Regions from separate parts of the Homo sapiens genome. Here all the other regions are linked to region 3. Evidence: promoter capture Hi-C in 16 types of primary human blood cells and fetal thymus (Javierre and others, 2016). All regions are on one chromosome and are shown on one strand. Each heading gives the region's core, a stretch centred on a gene start or on the middle of the fragment in contact. The rest is flanking DNA. Distances are from core to core; before and after follow the strand shown. Region 1 overlaps RBM23 (RNA binding motif protein 23). Region 2 has its middle 11 kb from the start of PSMB5. Region 3 holds the start of TSSK4 (testis specific serine kinase 4).

Region 1 (3,303 bases), core at 401-2,900, 1.3 Mb after region 3:
GGATTGAAACTATATTAGATTAATAAAAAGATGTGTGTGTGTGAACTTCCTGGGAGTGAGGGTTTAACCCAGAGGACTTCCACGTATGACCCCGGCAGTCTTTCAGAAGAGAAGAGCCCCTGTTCCAGTCTCTCTAGAGGGCTCAGATGCAGCACGGCCTAAAAGCTCATCTGTAGGCAGAGGCCCAGAGTGGAAAAATTTCCAGATGCAGGACTCCCCCGTTCCTCTGACCCTCAGGGGAGAGCACACAAAGTCTATGCTCTGGGCCAATGAGGCGGTCTTGTGGGCAAAGGGGAGTGGGAGTAGCAGGGGCTGGGCAGGGGCTGGTAAGGGAACACGGACTCCAAGACAAAATTGCAGTGGTTAAGAGATGCATGAGGACAGAAAGGACCTTACCTGGCATGGCAGCTCAGGTCCCAGTGCCCTCTGCTGACCTCTCACCCCAGCCAAGATCAATGGCTCTACTTTGCCTTGAGAGAGAAAGAGAGAATGGCCTGGCTCTCAGAGAAGGCCTCACCTCTCCCAAGTCTGGCGGGAGCCTGGCTTCAGCTTCCGTCTGTTCTGAGCTATTCCCTGTAGGCGTCTGGAGGGAACACACAGATGGGTCGGGCTGATGGGACTGGCTGAGTTGGGGGAGGGAGGCTCATGGTGTGTGGCTCCCCTCGTGGGGGAGGTCTTGCCATCATGGTCTTCCATACACGAAAGACATGTTTTAAGCTTCTGCCACGTAAAAGGCACTGGGCCTTTCTTGTTCCTCATCCTCCTCTCTGGCCACATCTGACCATTGGTGATACTCTCCTAGAAACCCCTCCTCTGGCAGCAGTCACAACAGGCTCAATCCTAGTTCTCCCACTACCTCTTTGGCAGCTGCTTCTCCACCTTCTCCATCTATATATCCCCAGGATCTCCTTGTTCCCTCTTCTTTCTCTGGACCCCTAAGGCTTTGTTTTAAATTATTTTGTTTCTTTCTTTTTTTTTTTTTGAGACGGAGTCTCTCTCTGTCGCCAGGCTGGAGTGCAGTGGCATGATCTCAGCTCACTGCAACCTCTGCCACCCAGGTTCAAGCGATTCAGCCTCCCGAATAGCTGGGATTACAGGTGCCCACCCCTGCGCCTGATTAATTTTTGTAGTTTTTAGTAGAGATGGGGTTTCGCTATCTTGGCCAGGCTGGTCTTGAACTCCTGACCTCATGATCCACCGGCCTTGGCCTCCCAAAGTGCTGGGATTACAGGCGTGAACCACTGTGCCCGGCCTATTTCGTTTCATTTTTGAAGTGGTACTAAATGACACAGTTAAAAGTTCCAAAGGTAGGCCAGGCGCGGTGGCTCACGCCTGTAATCCCAGCACTTTGGGAGGCTGAGGTGGGTGGATCATGAGGTCAGGAGTTCAAGACTAGCCTGGCCAAGATGGTGAAACCCCCGTCTCTACTAAAAATACAAAAATTAGCTGGGCGTGGTGGTGGGCACCTGTAATCCCAGCTACTCGGGAGACTGAGGCAGGAGAATCGCTTGAACCCAGGAGGTGGAGTTTGCAGTGAGCTGAGATTGTGCCACACTGCACTCCAGCCTGGGCAACAGAGCAAGACTCTGTCTCAAAAAAAAAAAAAAAAATTTCCAAAGGTAGAAAAAGGGCATACAGGCTGGACGCGGTGGCTCAGGCCTGTAATCTCAGCACTTTGGGAGGCTGAGGCAGGCGGATCACCTGAGGTTGGGAGTTTGAGACCAGCCTGACCAACATGGAGAAACCCCATCTCTACCAAAAATACAAAAGTGGCCGGGTGTGGTGGCACATGCCTGTAATCCCAGCTACTCGGGAGGCTGAGGCAGGAGAATCGCTTGAACCCAGGAGGCGGAGGTTACAGTGAGATCGTGCCATTGCACTCCAGCCTGGGCAACAAGAGTGAAACTCCGTCTCAAAAAAGAAAAGAAAAGAAAAGAAAAAGGGCATACAATGAAAAGTCAGCTTCCCATCCTGGTCTTCTACTCACCCAGTTCCCCTTTCCAGAAGCAGCCAGTACCATCTTTTTTTTTTTTTTTTTTTTTTTTGACAGAATCTCACTCTGTTGCCCAGGCTGGAGTACAGTGGCACGATCTCGGCTCACTGCAACCTCCACCTCCTGGGTTCAAACAATTCTCCTGCCTCAGCCTCCCAAGTAGCTGGGATTACAGGCATGTGCCACCATGCCCAGCTAATTTTTGTATTTTTAGTAGAGATGGGGTTTCGTCATGTTGGCCAGGCTGGTCTCGAACTCCTGACCTCAGGTGATCTACCCGCCTCGGCCTCTCAAAGTGCTGGGATTACAGGCATGAGCCATCCTGTGCCTGGCCTGTAACAAACCCTTTTGTGAATCTGATGAAATTCATGAACCCTATTCTCAGACACAGGTATGACTACACAAATACATCAGATTGTATGTACCATTTCACAAGACGCAGACTCCATCAGTAGTCTGGGGTAAGGATCCCAGCCTGTACTGCACCTTCTCCCTTAGTATAATTGTGGATCCCCTTGCAAAATGAAAATACAGGGCTCCTTGTTCGAAGAATTTTAAGAACATAACAGCAGAACATTAAACTAAGCTTAGGGCCCTATGTGACTGCACAGGTCACCTTTTCTCCTTGCTCTTCTACTACTATCTTTATGGTAATTATTCTCAAATCTGTTTCTCTTGTCCCAACTTGTTCTGAATTTCAGATTCAGATTCAACTCTAGAGAGCTGCTGAAACTCTATATAGATGTTCTTCTAGCATCTCAAATTCAGTGTCTCCAAAATGGAGCTCCTTACTCTCACTACCTCCTCTGCCCCTTTACTCCAAGTTCTGCACCATCCTCTCACCACCTACAACTTTTTCCTCTCTTTATACTCATCCACTAAGTTGCCAAGTCCCATTGATTCTGATGCTCAAACCCATGCCTCCTTCCTTTCCCACTGCCACCCCCCTCAGGATGGCCTTTCATTATCCTCTGTATGTATCACTATTAACTGGTCCCTAAACTCAGCTCCTCAGTACTTGCCTCTGCAGCTCCAATCCATACACACCTCTCCCAGCCTCCTCTTCCCAAAAGACCATCCTAATCATGACTTCCACATTCAGATACCTGCAGTGACTCTCCCTGCCTACAGAGTTGGGCACAAACTCTTTTTCCTGGCATTTAAGGTCCTTTACAGTGGGACTCCAAACCTTCTTTTCCATGCTCATCTCTTACCCCTCCTCTTCATGTCCCTGAGGTTTCAACCCAACTGTACAGCCATCTGGTCCCTTAATGGGCCCAGTGTGTTTTCCTGTGTTTTAAAATTTGAGC
Region 2 (3,587 bases), core at 414-2,913, 1.2 Mb after region 3:
TAAACCAACTGGGAAGGGAAGGCTTGGACCCTGGGAAGGGGAGGACAAAGAAGTGGCTGTGAAAGCAGTAGTAACCACAAGCTTGGTGACCCTTGTCCTTTTGGTCCTCCAGTGCATATGTGTGGAGGGGAGAGGGTAGTGATGGTGATTTTATAGCCTCCTGGTCAGGAAGCAGCACTAAATTGTCACTGGAATGTGTGGGTGGGGAAGAGGCCCTGCTGAGAGCAGAGAGATGGCTGATTTATCACACCCAGCACTGTTGGGGCTGGGGGGAGTTCCCAAGCTATGGTGGCAGCAGATGGCAAGGCCTTCTGTTAAAGAGAAGACAGGGGATAGAGGAGGTTGATGGGAGAAACCTTTAAAAAATGGGAGCGGAGGACACAAACAATACCACCTTGTATTTAGTCAGAAGGCAGAAAGTGGTTGGTGAAGGTGACAACCCAGTGTCATGTTTTGAGACTGAGAGGTTTGGAGAAGTCATTCACAGAAGAAGAGGGGGTAAACCCTCCTCTCCTGTACTGCAGCTACCTTCCCTTCCCCCTCAGCCTTGTGCAGTCTTCGTATTGATTGATGAGGGCTGTCGGCCAGGAACTGATCGAGGCTTGTTAATTGCATTTGTCAAATGCAGGGAAATTGGGAATTAGTGAAATCGGAGAAGGGGGTTTGGAAAACAAATGACTCGTGCCTAAGGAAATTTTTTGCAGGAAAGTATCTCAGGAGCCCCTGCAGTCAGGGAGCTGCTGGTGTGGACTCAGACTACATGGTTGAAATAGGCAGGAGCTGGGCGGGGCACAGTGGCTCAGGCTTGTAATCCCAGCACCAGCACTTTGGGAGACGGAGGCAGGCAGATCACTTGATGCCAGGAGTTTGAGACCAGTCTGGCCAACATGGTGAAACCTGTCTCTACTAAAAATACGAAAAATTAGCTGGGTGTGGTGGCAGGCACCTGTAATCCCAGCTACTTGGGAGGCTGAGGCAGAGGTTGCAGTGAGCCGAGATGGTGCCATTGCACTCCAGCCTGGGCAACAAAAGCAAAACTCCATCTAAAAAAAAAAAGAAAGAAAGAAATAGGCAGGACCCAAGCTACATCTTCCTTCTCGTAGACTGTTGGGAAATGGTTAGCTGCGTGAGAAGCACAGGTAGGTCATCTTCCTCCCACTTAGGACATTGGTTTGCAGATCTTAAAAAAAAAAAAGAAAAAAAAAAAAGCACTCTTAGGAGAAATCCCAATGCCTGAAAAAAAAATCAGAGGTTGAAATTGAGCTGAGAGGTCCAGAGCCTCCACTATTGAGCTTCCCCATCCAGCCACTCCCCGCAGCACCCTTTGTTAGCCCCATACACATACACAGTCCCTGGCACTTCTTGGAACCTCAAGGAACACAATTTGAACACCTCTTCCCTGGGAAATAGCCTTAAGGATAGAAAGAGAATTGAAGATTGGAATTTCCTTACATGACCCCAGAGAGCATAAGACCCCAGCTTTGGTCCATGAACAGAAAATTCATTCTGGAGAGAAGAGATGATCGTGAAACAATGCAACCCTTTGCCCTGTTTCTGTCTCACACTTTGCTTTGGCAGTGGTTTAGCTGTTTAACGGAAACACCTATTCTGCACTGGCAGAGTCCTTATGTTAGAAGAGAAAATGCATGTTCTGTTCTGGCATATCCCTGTTGATCTACCTTCCTGGGTCTTGGGTAAAAGACTCATTTAATGGAAGAGCTCGATTTGTGGTAGGTTTTTCTGGGAAGAAAGTAGAGCAGAGGTAGGGAAAAACTGCAAGTCTGTAGGCTAGTGGTATCCACCCTGTGCATTTGTGATTTCTTGCTGATGGTTACTGGGGGGAAATTGGCTTTGCAGCGATGTGTGTCTCCGCTTGTGTGGGAATGATGGATGCCGCATAGGATTGGAGAGATGTTTTTGAGTGGAGTGTACCAGTTCAGGGACTCCCATCAGATTCATTTCCCAGTACAGTCCTCTTGACAAAGGATGATGGAAAAGAAATCGCCTTAAATAGCTGGAAGATTAATTTCTCTCAGCAGTTCCCAGGCGTCCAAGGGACTGGGCTCTTTAAGTGATGTCTGACAACTTCTCTTCCCTCAACAGATAACTCAGTAACACCAAAATCTGGCTCCTCGGGGTAGGTGATGGGACTAATCTGATTAAATAGGGAGCAAATACTCCTGGAGGCCCCTTGCTTTCTCTTGCTAGCCTTCCAGCATCTGCACACCAGGCAAGGGAGGGCTGTGGGGAGTAGCAGTGCACTGTGGGGTGAGTAGAATGTTCATGAAGGAAGGTGAAAAGGTAGGTGAGGATGTGGGGGAGGAGGGAGGAAGGGCACAGTTAACGCAAATCAAAGACTGAAGGATAATAGTTACTGAGTGTTCCTCTTTAGGCAAAACCAGAAGGTCAGTGTCTCTTGATATCCTCCTCAGCTAGCAAATGAGAAAACTGTCAGAGCCATTTGGGGAGTGGAAGGTCACATCCTCCGAGGGGAAATAAAATAACTGATTTATTCTGGCCCACGGATTCTATGTGGTCTGTTAGGGGAAGGAAGAAAGAGGTGGGATGAAAAGAGAATAAAGTAGAAAAAAAAAGGTGGATGGAAATTTTGAGGGGAGCATTTCCCTTGTGTCAGGAGTAACAAGGATAGGATGATTGGGTTAGGAGAGAATCTACATGACCATATCTAATTTTCGGTGGATACATTTAGGTTTTTAATTTTCTTTTATTTTTGTTTCTTTTGTTAGATCTTCCCCTGACCTGCTCCCAGGGCTATAACAGATACGGACTTTGAAACTGTATGGAGTATAGAGCAGTGCTCTATAATTTAAAATATACATATATTGCAACCAAGCACCTCTGCTGTTTTGCGTTTGTTTCTTGTTTGTTTTTATAAATTCTAGTTTCCCTTCAGGAAGCCAGAATCATACTGGGAATGCTTTAATTATAGTGGGCAAGAGGGAGCTCAAACAGCAATCAGAACTGCCCTGATCAGCAGCTGCTGCCACCTTCTACCTGACCTGGGCCACCCCTCTTTTTCCCCCCAAGTCAGCCTCCCGTGCTCCCCAGGCGTGGCTTCAGAGCCAAGTTCTGGTTTCCAGGAGCTCTGCCCCCACTGAAGCATTTCAATAAAAAACATTTCTAAAATGTCCCCTTTGCAGTTGTTAGTGGGTCAAGCAGAAGAAATTCTACCCACGTCAGCTTCTTGGGCTTATTTGACCCAACTCATTTCTCCCAGAAGCTTTTGCCTCTGAGTTAGGTGCCAAGCTTAAGCTGGTATTTAACTCTTTATGGTCCAGATTAAGCTGTCATCAGCCATAAAGATATGACCCAGTTTATTTGAAAAGAAATAAGACACCATGGGTTCGACACGTTCTGATGCTTCCCATTACTTATCCCCGGCCCCATCTTAGGCTGTTCCTCCCTTTGCCTCGTTCCATGTTTTCTCTCTGCTCTCTCACTTTATAAAAATTCTCTTTCCTTTGCAGAGTTTAAATAAAAACCAATCAATCAATAAACCAAGGGCTGCTTATAGGCTTTACTGTAACAAGAAAAGGTTATCATTAACTGCAGGGTACCCAAAAAGC
Region 3 (3,273 bases), core at 629-3,128:
TTGGATATTCACCCCTCCCTGTGGGTCATCCCTGAAGGCTCAGCCCTCCTTAGGTAGCCAGTACCTTGCACTCCTGGGAGATGGTATGGTTAGCTGGGAAAGTGACCTCCTTCTGAGTCTCTCTTAGCAGCTTTTTGAGATTGGTGTCATCAAAGGGCAGATGGGCGACCACTAGAGTGTAAAGGATGACGCCCATGCTCCAGGTGTCAGACAGGAAAGGGTTGTAGGGCAAGCCTCGTAAGATCTCTGGGCAAGCGTAAGCAAAGCTGCCACAGTAAGTCTGGCTGAGGTGGGAAAAGCAGTTCACTTGGCGGTAAGAAGGGCTACAACCCACAGGCTGGTTAGAAGGCACCATCTTGGCAAAGCCAAAGTCTGATATCTTCACATTCTCCCACTTGTCCAGCAACAGGTTCTCCAACTTTAAGTCCCTACCAGCAGCAGAAAGGCTGGGCATCAGGCTGGGGAGAGGGCTTAGTTTTAGACTGGGAGCTGAAGGGCCAGGGGTCAGAGGGTAAAGATGAGGACAGAGGAAGTGGGAGGTAGAAACCATTATGAGGGCACAAGGTAGAGAGGAAGGAAAGCCATGGAGTTGTGAGCAGAGCCCAAAGTAGGGAGAGAGACAGAGGATGGTATCTGAGGACCACCGGGAGCTCACCATTGTATTTCATAAAATGCTTTGCATACAGTGAGTACTTTATCAGTATCCTTGACCATATGATTAAAATAGAGTGCATGAATAGGCTAGATATTGAGGAGGGAGTTCGAAAGAGGAAAAAAGGACAGGAAATGGGAGATGTGCATAAAACCCCCTTGAGGGCAAAGGCCCCAGTCTGGGTGGCAGCGCCCTCACCGGTGCACGATGCTCTTGCTGTGCAGGTAGGCAATGCCCAGGGTCAGCTGGGAGAACCACTTGCCAGCAAGGGGCTCAGAGCAGGCCCCGTAGCGCTGGATCCATTCAAGGACATCACCACCCTGAGCCAGTTCCAGAATGATGTATACTCGAGATGTGCTCTCAATGGCCCGATAGAAGTTGATGAGGTACTTGTGCCGCAAGACTTTCATTACCTGACCCCAGAAGAAGGACCCATCAAACCTGGGAAGGGAGAACCCTGACTGCACTCCCAGCCGTCTCCTACCCTCAGCTACTGACTTAGGACTTTGCAATAGGATCAGCCCCTCAACCCCAGAGAACTGGTGGCCTGTGGGCAAATGCTATGTTTTGTGCCTTTACTTTTTGGGGACTGAAGGTGAGTGGGTGGATGGGAAAGAGGTTTAACTTACATAAAGTTTCCTAGCTGCTTAGTGAGACATTTCAGTTCTGGTTTAGGGGTTTCTGGCCCCACCCCTCCTGGCCATACCCCTTCTGAGAAACCTCAAGCAGCTTAGTACCAAGCTCCAGTTCCCTCTTCCAGCCCCCTTTCCAACCTGTATTTCACGGGGCAGGAACTTGTTAAGATAGTCATCAGAGGCCTTCTTCTTTGAGATGATCTTGACTGCCACCATAACCTTCTGCTTTGTGTAGAAAGCCTCATATACCGACCCATAGGAGCCATGGCCAATGGCCTTGCCCACCTCATAACCATATTCATCCATGAGGGAATGGTAGGCTGTGGTGGTTGGTGCTGCCTCTAAGACATCTCCCTTCCCCATGGTGTTGGGCTTGCTGAGAGCAGGGAGCTTTACTACTTGGAAGCCTCCTATCCAAAGGCCAACACCTTGAGCTGCTGAAGGCTAGGGTATCAAAGTGAAGTAGGTCCCCAAATGCTTGCCTATATAGTCACACGAGTCTGGGATGCTGGACTCAGCCCTCCACTAGGAACTTGGAGGGGGAAAGAAAGAGAAGCAGTTCTTTTTGTCTCCACTGGCTGTTGTTACTTTCTCCTTTTGGTTACGGAACTCCTCAAGGTCCCATGTTCCGAATACATCACAATCCACCTCCTATCCATCGTTGGCCACAAAACTTGAGAATGAAGTGCGGCCGGGCGCGGTGGCTCACGCCTGTAATCCCAGCACTTTGGGAGGCCGAGGCGGGCGGATCACGAGGTCAGGAGATCGAGACCATCCCGGCTAAAACGGTGAAACCCCGTCTCTACTAAAAATACAAAAAATTAGCCGGGCGTAGTGGCGGGCGCCTGTAGTCCCAGCTACTTGGGAGGCTGAGGCAGGAGAATGGCGTGAACCTGGGAGGCAGAGCTTGCAGTGAGCCGAGATTGCGCCACTGCACTCCAGCCTGGGCGACAGAGCGAGACTCCGTCTCAAAAAAAAAAAAAAAAAAAAAGAGAATGAAGTGCAGTTGGAAACGTACTCATTCCCAGAGGCACCTTCCACAGTCTGGTGAAACTCCTAAAGATCAGACCTTTCATTGATATATGAGTACCTACTAAGTACCAGACACTGTGCTGAATACTTGGATAAAATGTCACCCAAATGTCATGCCAGACCCTTCCTCCTTCCTCAATCCCTACATACAATCTTTCATCAAATCCTGTCTCTGCTATCTCCTACTTATCTCTTTAATGATACACTCAAGGCTTTCCGAGCCCATTGCAGCCCCCTTAGTTCAATAAGGCCAATAGAGACACTATGATCCTAAAGCTTATAATGCAGCATGAGAAATACGAGTGTGAAAGTATTACCATTGTAAGGTATTGAACATGTTCTAGGAAAATCTAACCTTGAAATGCATCCTTATCTTCTATGAGCCAGAACTCTCTAGTTTTCCTCCACATCCTTCTGGTCACTCCTCAGCCTTCACTGAAGTTATATCTTTCTCTATCCATCCCTTAATCATATCCCAAGTGTTACATCACAAGCTTTATTTTCTCAAACCTTCACATCCTCCCTTAATCTTGTCCATACCCATGGTGTCAATACTACATTTATGCTGACTGCTCCTAATTTCATCTCCATCCCATATATCTGGAGTTTAGATAGAGCAGCCAGTATTACGTGGCCATGTCTGCCCCAGGCATGGAACTTACCATATCCATCTCAAACTTAACCATATCAATAATTGAACTTATTTTCTTCTCTCAGACTTTTCTGTGAGTTGTACACTAATCACCCTTAATTTAGACACTCATATGTCATCCCAGACCCTCCTGCCTCAGTCCCTACATTCAATCTATCACGAAATCCTATCTCTTATACCTCCTGATTCTCTCTTTGATAATATTCTCATGGTTTTCTGAGCCCACTGCTAATCCCTTAGTTCACGCCTCCATCATCGAACAGATGGCCCCCGCCAGCCTTCTGCTCCACTCCAGTCTGTCC

The links. Contacts are between HindIII fragments. The CHiCAGO score rates a contact against its expected background, and 5 or more counts as called.
Region 1: a fragment that was not itself captured here is called in contact with the fragment with the promoter of TSSK4 in region 3 in 1 of 17 cell types (activated CD4 T cells); the score reaches 6.2 in activated CD4 T cells.
Region 2: a fragment that was not itself captured here is called in contact with the fragment with the promoter of TSSK4 in region 3 in 1 of 17 cell types (total B cells); the score reaches 5.3 in total B cells.

The regions. Positions count from the first base shown.
Region 1 is chr14:22,889,946-22,893,248 of GRCh38, reverse strand. It overlaps RBM23 (RNA binding motif protein 23), which reads left to right. Exons shown (of 14, transcript NM_001077351.2): 14 at 1-45. Among named protein-coding and RNA genes, the nearest start is that of REM2, 8.4 kb to the right of the region's middle. The HindIII fragment of the contact is 1,862 bases long and covers 720-2,581 here.
Region 2 is chr14:23,021,905-23,025,491 of GRCh38, reverse strand. No RefSeq gene overlaps it. Among named protein-coding and RNA genes, the nearest start is that of PSMB5, 11 kb to the left of the region's middle. RefSeq lists an enhancer at 286-375. The HindIII fragment of the contact is 3,160 bases long and covers 84-3,243 here.
Region 3 is chr14:24,204,301-24,207,573 of GRCh38, reverse strand. TSSK4 (testis specific serine kinase 4) reads right to left here and starts at 1,878. Exons shown (of 4, transcript NM_001184739.2): 1 at 1,426-1,878; 2 at 851-1,065; 3 at 65-458. The coding sequence starts at 1,650. The HindIII fragment of the contact is 3,453 bases long and covers 1-2,597 here.